2 separate regions of the Homo sapiens genome follow, and region 2 is linked to region 1. The links are contacts of gene promoters, found by promoter capture Hi-C in human tissues and cell types (Jung and others, 2019). All regions are on one chromosome and are shown on one strand. Each heading gives the region's core, a stretch centred on a gene start or on the middle of the fragment in contact. The rest is flanking DNA. Distances are from core to core; before and after follow the strand shown.

Evidence for each region. Contacts are between HindIII fragments. The study calls those that stand out against the background at their distance.
Region 2: a contact is called between a fragment that was not itself captured here and the fragment with the promoter of HEATR1 in region 1, in 1 of the 25 tissues and cell types used here (dorsolateral prefrontal cortex).

Annotation. Positions count from the first base shown.
Region 1 is chr1:236,602,480-236,606,338 of GRCh38, reverse strand. It overlaps HEATR1 (HEAT repeat containing 1), which reads left to right and starts at 1,823. Exons shown (of 45, transcript NM_018072.6): 1 at 1,823-1,917; 2 at 2,212-2,385; 3 at 2,963-3,179. The coding sequence starts at 2,244. RefSeq lists an enhancer at 1,623-1,882. The HindIII fragment of the contact is 3,901 bases long and covers 886-3,859 here.
Region 2 is chr1:237,667,813-237,671,671 of GRCh38, reverse strand. RYR2 (ryanodine receptor 2) reads right to left here. Exons shown (of 105, transcript NM_001035.3): 58 at 3,714-3,789. Among named protein-coding and RNA genes, the nearest start is that of MIR4428, 200 kb to the right of the region's middle. The HindIII fragment of the contact is 5,329 bases long and covers 1-3,859 here.

The DNA.
Region 1 (3,859 bases), core at 574-3,073:
AAATTACATTTATGAACATCTGACTTGTTTTCCTTTTTACTTTCCAAAGTAAAATTCGGCATGGCACTATACACCATCACAGCTGACATAGGAAGGACTGAGTCAAATCTTTGTAGCACTTTTTCAAGTTTCACTTAAATAAAGCTTTTAAAAAATATATAGGGTATTTTTTAAGCAAAAAAAGCAAATTATCTTATCAATGAAACAGACCTGGTGTTCATTTCTTTTAAAGTACCGAAAGCTGATTGCTTCTGTAAAGGTAAAACTCCTGTGACATGTTAGAAAGAAAAAAAAAATTCCTTTGAGAGATATGTTTGTAAGAATGAAATAGGTACTACTAGAATTTTCATGTTATTCTCTGCAAGGCACTCAACACCACATGAAAAGAAGATTATTAACAGTCAGTAGAAATACTAATAACTGAAGAAAATATTTGGTTGTTTTAAATGCTTTTAAAGCAAACCAACAACAAAAGATTCTGTTTGTAAATGGGAGAGAATCTGCATGAGGTATAGACAACCAGGGCCTCCAAATTTGTAGCTGTGTTTCTGACATTCTCCAGGGAAGACGGTTACAGAAAGACTTGACCCCCTGGCCCCGCAGAGCTCTTCAGAGAAATTAATGCATCCAGAAAAGACAGAGCATCAGATCTCACTCCTTCGTCTGGAAGACGTCAGTTCATCCTAGTTCTAGCGCATACCGGTGTTTTGGAAACAGATTAGCTATATTCATACATAAGGATACTCTTCCGCAACACTATCTGTAGTGAGGCCAAGACCAGTGGTTGCGGGAATCTTCGCAAACAGGCAAGAGACAATTTTTAGGGGCGATGGAAACTGTCATTTTGACTGGGGAGGTCATTACACCTATACATGCATTTGCTAAAAGTCATCAAACTCTTCCACTGACGTGGGTGTAACCATTGTTTGTAAATTATACCTCAACAGGATTCGATTAATTTATTTATTGAGACAGTCTCGCTCTGTGGAGTGCAGTGGTGCAATCTTGGCCCACTGCAACCTCCGACTCCCGGGTTCCAGCGATTCTTCTGTCTCAGCTTTCCTAGTAGCTGGGATTACAGGCGCCCGCCACCACGTCCGGCTAATTCTTTTATTTTTAGTAGAGACGGGGTTTCGCTATGTTGGCCAGGCTGGTCCCGAACTCCTGACCTCAGGTGATCAGCTCGCCTGAGCTTCCCAAAGTGCTCGGATTACAGGCCGCGCCTGACTATGATTCGTTTTGAAAGAAAAAAATATATGCCATTTACCCCTCGGGAATGGAAACATAGAGGAGTGACAAGATCTCCCCCAAGCTCTGGGGCGGTGGAGTCCAGCATTTATAGATCGGTTTGCACTAGGAGCAGAAGCTCCTTTCACGACAATCTCGGCCTCTTCCCACTTTGTAGAGTGAGTAACAAGCTCGGAGAGATGAAATAATTTGGTGGCGTTAACCCGGCCGACAGGCGCCAGCGCCAGGATTTGAACCCAAACCACGTGACTTCACAACCCATAGCTTTCAACACTACGCGGTGCTGCTGGCACCTAGTAAAGGCTGGATCACTACTGAATGAATGATTCTGGCTACGGATCCTTAAAGCCCACAGAAGGCCCATCCAGAGACCGAAAGCTTCAGACACAAGCCGCAGAGCAGACCGCTAAACCGGAGCTACAGAGGCGAAGCTCAGACTTGAGCCTGAGTCCGGCGGGCTGAGGGGCGGGCTTTCGTCTCGGGAGGCGGAGCTGTCTCGTCGCATTCCCGGCAAGCTTGAACCTCTTCACTTGCCGTAGCGCCTGCAGCAGGAAGTTGCTCTACAGCATGCCTTAGGTTTCCGGGTGAGGGTTGGGCTCCTTGGTACCATGTGGGAAGCGCTGTGAAGAGTTGTTGCCTTCCAAGATATACCCAAATTCCCAGTTCCAGGTAAGCGGCACAGAGCCGCTTGATGTGGCTGCGGATGGGGGCGGCATATCGAGGGAGGGTAAGAGTTTTCCGGATATCTGCGGAATCAGGGTTGAAGGAAAGCCTTGGCGCGGTCGCCGCTACTGTAATTAGTTGTTAACGCTGCTGCCATCGTCTTTGCATCTCCGGGGTCCACAAATCTCAGGACACCCGCGTTGTGTGTCCATGACGGTGCTGAGTGCAGAAGAGAATTGTTTGTTTACGAGGCGCCTTATAATTTCGTAGAAACTTATCAAAGTGCTTACGTTTTTTTAGCCCGTGTCATTAAAACTCCGCTGGCGTGAAAGATGACGTCCTTAGCCCAGCAGCTGCAACGACTCGCCCTCCCTCAAAGTGATGCCAGCCTCTTATCTAGAGATGAAGTTGCTTCTTTGTTATTTGACCCTAAGGAAGCGGCCACAATCGACAGGGACACCGCCTTCGCCATTGGTGAGCCATCTTTTAACTTAGAAAAGCTCTTGGAAGCGTTTGTTTTCTGGATGTTACTGTTTTTTTTTTTTCCCCTTGTTTTCTCTTCTGTCCCGTCCTCTTCCTTAGCAGTTTCTAGCATGTTGATGTATATTTTTAAGGGAAAGAGAACATAACAGTCAGGTGCTTGGTGCTTGAAATGTTTATGAGTAGAGGTATCTGGATTTCACAGATGAAGAAACAAAATTAGAGAGGTCAACTAATATGTCAAAGAGAAGAACAGCTAAAAGGGGGATGGAGGCAGTGACTGGGGTGACGGAGAAGTCCTCTCAGAGGACTGGCCTAGTTATTGTAGGGGATATCCAAAAAAAAAAAAAAAAAAGTGTTCCCTGCCACGAAGTACTTTCTGTTCTAGTAGATGAGATAGGATTTACTCTAAAAGTTGAAAACTAGAAATCAGTGTTTGGGACTGTATTATAAATTATATGTACTTAAAGAATTCAGAAACTTCTTAGGGGTAAGTAAAACTGTAAAAGAGGGGTGGGATGAATTTGCTTACGAAGAATTGTTAAATAAACTGGCCTTTTTTGAAATTTAGGATGTACTGGCCTGGAAGAGTTGCTTGGAATTGATCCTTCCTTTGAGCAGTTTGAAGCACCGTTGTTCAGTCAGCTAGCAAAAACCTTGGAGCGAAGTGTTCAGACCAAAGCAGTAAACAAACAGTTGGATGAAAACATTTCATTATTCCTTATTCACTTGTCGCCTTACTTCCTGCTTAAGCCAGCACAGAAGTGTCTGGAGTGGTTGATTCACAGGTAGCTAATAGAATTACAGAAATAACTATGGGTTAATCACTTTGGTCTTGTAAAAAATTAAGTAGTTGAGAACTTATCAAATTAAAGCTGAAAAATTAGGTATATTAAGAGATTGATACAATGTCCATTGTGTGAGATAAGCATGCTCTTCTGCCTTTAAATTCTTTTTTGTTGATAGTGAAAAGTAGAACTACTGGTGATTTTGAGTAAATGGTCTAACCTCATTAGTTTTTTTTTGAGATAGAGTCTTGCTGGGCACTCAGGCTGGAGTGCAATATTGAAATCTTGGCTCACTGCAACCTCTGCCTCCCAGGTTCAAGTGATTCTCCCACCTCAGCCTCCCAAGTAGCTGGGATTACAGGCACCTGCCATAATGCCTGGATGAGTTTTGTGTTTTTGTAGAGATGGAGTTTCACCGTGTTAGCCAGGCTGGTCTTTAACCCCTGACCTCAGGTGATCCACCCGCCTCGGCCTCCCAAAATACTGGGATTACAGGTGTGAGCCACCTCGCCCAGCCTAACCTCGTTAGTTCTGAAGAGCCCATGCTACTTTGCCATTACAGCTTGTTCCTGCACACTTGAGGCAGTGAGTACTAAGCTGCTTTCTTGGCAAAATAACAAGATGGTTGGGGAAGCAGGCAATGTTATCCTCTGAAATACCATTGCTTGAGAAAAACAATG
Region 2 (3,859 bases), core at 416-2,915, 1.1 Mb before region 1:
GATTCATCTTCTCTGCACAGATGCAGGGATGATAAAAGAGAAGAGAATGGGTGAAAACAAAACTGTGCAGCTTTGGCCCTGATTCTTTTAGTGTTTCTGACTTCTTATTTCTATTTCTCTCTCTCTCACACGCACACACACACACACACACGCACACACACACACACACCCAGGCACCAAGACATCAGGTGGTGACAGATTCCTCCCACCTACCTCTTATCGGCAGTGGGAGTAGAGCTGGCAGGATGCAACTGCCTACAACTGTTGGCTATAAGGATCCTCCCCACTATTAATGTCTCTGAGTGAGAAAACAACTTTGAAAAAAAGACACATGTCGTTTCTGCTCTGAAACTGGCCACAGTCTGTAACCTATCTTCTATGCCCAAGACTCATTTCTCTGGTTTGCTAATCTCAATAACCTAAAAGCCAGGATCCTGACTGTATAGTTCAACACGTTTCCTACTGGTCTGCCATTTTGGTTCTAAACTAGTTCCTCTTTAAAAATGAGATCCATACATGCAGTAAGAGAATTAAAGACTGCGAGGACTAATTTCCCCTACCTCACCACTTAGTCTGCTGCCACTAGGTTAGTTTCCCAACTACAGAATACAAATTTGAGCCAGTACAAGTTGTATGCAGAAGTATGGATGTGCCATTTACGAGTGGTATGACTTAAAGAAAATATCGATCTGGCTCAGAAATTTAAATAATGATGATTTTCTATCATGCTTATTTAGAAAAGCATATAGGTTGAATAGGTCTAATCTAAAAATCTGAAATCCAAATGTTCCAAAATCAGAAACTTTTTGAGTATCTACATGATGCTCAAAGGAAACACTTATTGGAGCATTTAAGCTTTTGGATTTGGGATTTGGGATGCTGAACCAGTAAGTATATGCAAATATTTAAAAAATCAGAAAAAAATCTCAACTTTCAAACAGTTTTGGTTCCAAACATTTTGGATAAGGGATAATCAACCTGTAATAAGATAGCTGCTTATTATTTTTAATTTAACTGTACCACAGTGACTTAAACATAGTTTAAAAAAAGGAACAGACATTTTTTCATGTAATCTGCTCATGTAATAAGCAGTGATTTTGTTTACCAGTTATGTGGGCAATACCCTGTCAAGAATTTCACAAAACAAAACTCTATGACTCATTTGCCATCCATCCATTCATCCATGCATCCATGAGCCAAACAATGAATTAATCATTCATTTAACAAACATTTATGGGGTGGTTTTAGAATACAGGCATATTATCCCTGAGCAGCATTTTGAAATAGGCAATTAAAAATGTGGAATCTTCTCCCTCTCCCTCTCCCTCTCCCGTCTCCCTCTCCCTCTCCCTCTCCCTCTCCAGTCTCCCTCTCCCCACAGTCTCCCTCTCCCCACGGTCTCCCTCTGATGCCGAGCCGAAGCTGGACTGTACAGCTGCCATCTCGGCTCACTGCAACCTCCCTGCCTGATTCTCCTGCCTCAGCCTGCCGAGTGCCTGCGATTGCAGGCGCGCGCCGCCACGCCTGACTGGTTTTCGTATTTTTTTGGTGGAGACGGGGTTTCGCTGTGTTGGCCAGGCCGGTCTCCAGCCCCTAACCGCAAGTGATCCGCCAGCCTCGGCCTCTGGAGGTGCCAGGATTGCAGACGGAGTCTCGTTCACTCAGTGCTCAATGGTGCCCAGGCTGGAGTGCAGTGGCGTGATCTCGGCTCGCTACAACCTCCACCTCCCAGCCGCCTGCCTTGGCCTCCCAAAATGCCGAGATTGCAGCCTCTGCCCGGCCGCCACCCCGTCTGGGAAGTGAGGAGCGTCTCTGCCTGGCCGCCCATCATCTGGGATGTGAGGAGCCCCTCTGCCTGGCTGCCCAGTCTGGAAAGTGAGGAGCGTCTCTGCCCGGCCGCCATCCCATCTAGGAAGTGAGGAGCGCCTCTTCCCAGCCGCCATCACATCTAGGAAGTGAGGAGCGTCTCTGCCCGGCCGCCCATCCTCTGAGATGTGGGGACCGCCTCTGCCCTGCCGCCCCGTCTGGGATGTGAGGAGCGTCTCTGCCCGGCCGCCCCGTCTGAGAAGTGAGGAGACCCTCTGCCTGGCAACTGCCCCGTCTGAGAAGTGAGGAGCCCCTCCGCCCGGCAGCCGCCCCGTGCGGGAGGGAGGTGGGGGGGGTCAGCCCCCCGCCCGGCCAGCCGCCCCGTCCGGGAGGTGAGGGGCGCCTCTGCCCGGCCGCCCCTACTGGGAAGTGAGGAGCCCCTCTGCCAGGCCACCACCCCGTCTGGGAGGTGTACCCAACAGCTCATTGAGAACGGGCCATGATGACAATGGCGGTTTTGTGGAATAGAGAGGGGGGAAAGGTGGGGAAAAGATTGAGAAATCAGATGGTTGCCGTGTCTGTGTAGAAAGAAGTATACATGGGAGACTTTTCATTTTGTTCTGTACTAAGAAAAATTCTTCTGCCTTGGGATCCTGTTGATCTGTGACCTTACCCCCAACCCTGTGCTCTCTGAAACATGTATTGTGTCCACTCAGGGTTAAATGGATTAAGGACGGTGCAAGATGTGCTTTGTTAAACAGATGCTTGAAGGCAGCATGCTCGTTAAGAGTCATCACCACTCCCTAATCTCAAGTACCCAGGGACACAAACACTGCGGAAGGCCGCAGGGTCCTCTGCCTAGGAAAACCAGAGACCTTTGTTCACTTGTTTATCTGCTGACCTTCCCTCCACTATTGTCCTATGACCCTGCCAAATCCCCCTCTGCGAGAAACACCCAAGAATGATCAATAAAAAATAAAAAAAATAAAAAATAAAATGTGGAATCTTCTCTTTTCCTCTCTGTGACCAATCCTAATTTGTGTTACTCTGTTTCCTAGTGCTTGGTGCCAGGTACCATCCTTCCATATCACAGCTTTACCTTTCACCATGAAATATCCCCACTTTCAAAATCTTCTCCCCTTCTACATTTTCACCTAGTCAAATAAATAAAAAGTAGAAGCTTTATTGGCACCTGTAACTATACAATAAGGATTACAAAAGAAATAAATGTTGTGGCCCTGAGCTCGAAAATAGTATATTCCTATCAGGGGAAAGAAAACCATATAGGAAGTCATTAACGACAGCGCATATGCGCGCACACACACAGACACCACATTATAAACAATATGTGTATAGACTAACGGCAAATAAATAATGTTGAAAGATATCATCAGCATAGCATACGTTAAACTGAAGAAAATATGCAAATAAATTTTAAAAGACTTGAGAAATAACTAAGAGAACATTAGTTCATTTAGTATTTGAATAAAAAAACGGGAAAAGTGCAAGCAAAAGCATGTAAGAGACAGTAACATAGCTGGACCAGACAAAAGAGGCTGAGATAGGAAATAAAAAGGGGTGAGATAGGAGATATTTAAGTTGGGGAAGAGAGTCAGGGAGGGAAGTCTAAGTCATTCATAGAACAACTCAGATATCAGGATGAGAAGTACAGAAGTCTGTAAGCTAAAATGGGTAAAAGAAAGCTGTCAAAATTCTGAGACACAAGAAAATATATACTAGCCACTAGGAAATTACAGCATTTCCAACTTCAATCTGTTACAGGCACAATTAAACCGTTCTGATTTTAAAAAGTTATAATAAGCTGTTGTGCTGAAGACGACTTCATCCATACACTCATGGAATTGAGCTCAGATTATTTTTTAATAAACGTTTTTAGAAAATATTACCTTTGGACTCCAACTCCATTTTCTTTTTCTTTGCCCATATATTATGGTAGTTTTCAGCCATCATTTCTGCCATAGCCTTAAATGAACAAAAATATTTATCGTTTCAATAAGTAAAAAAGGATAATATTGCTTTCTAATATATAATA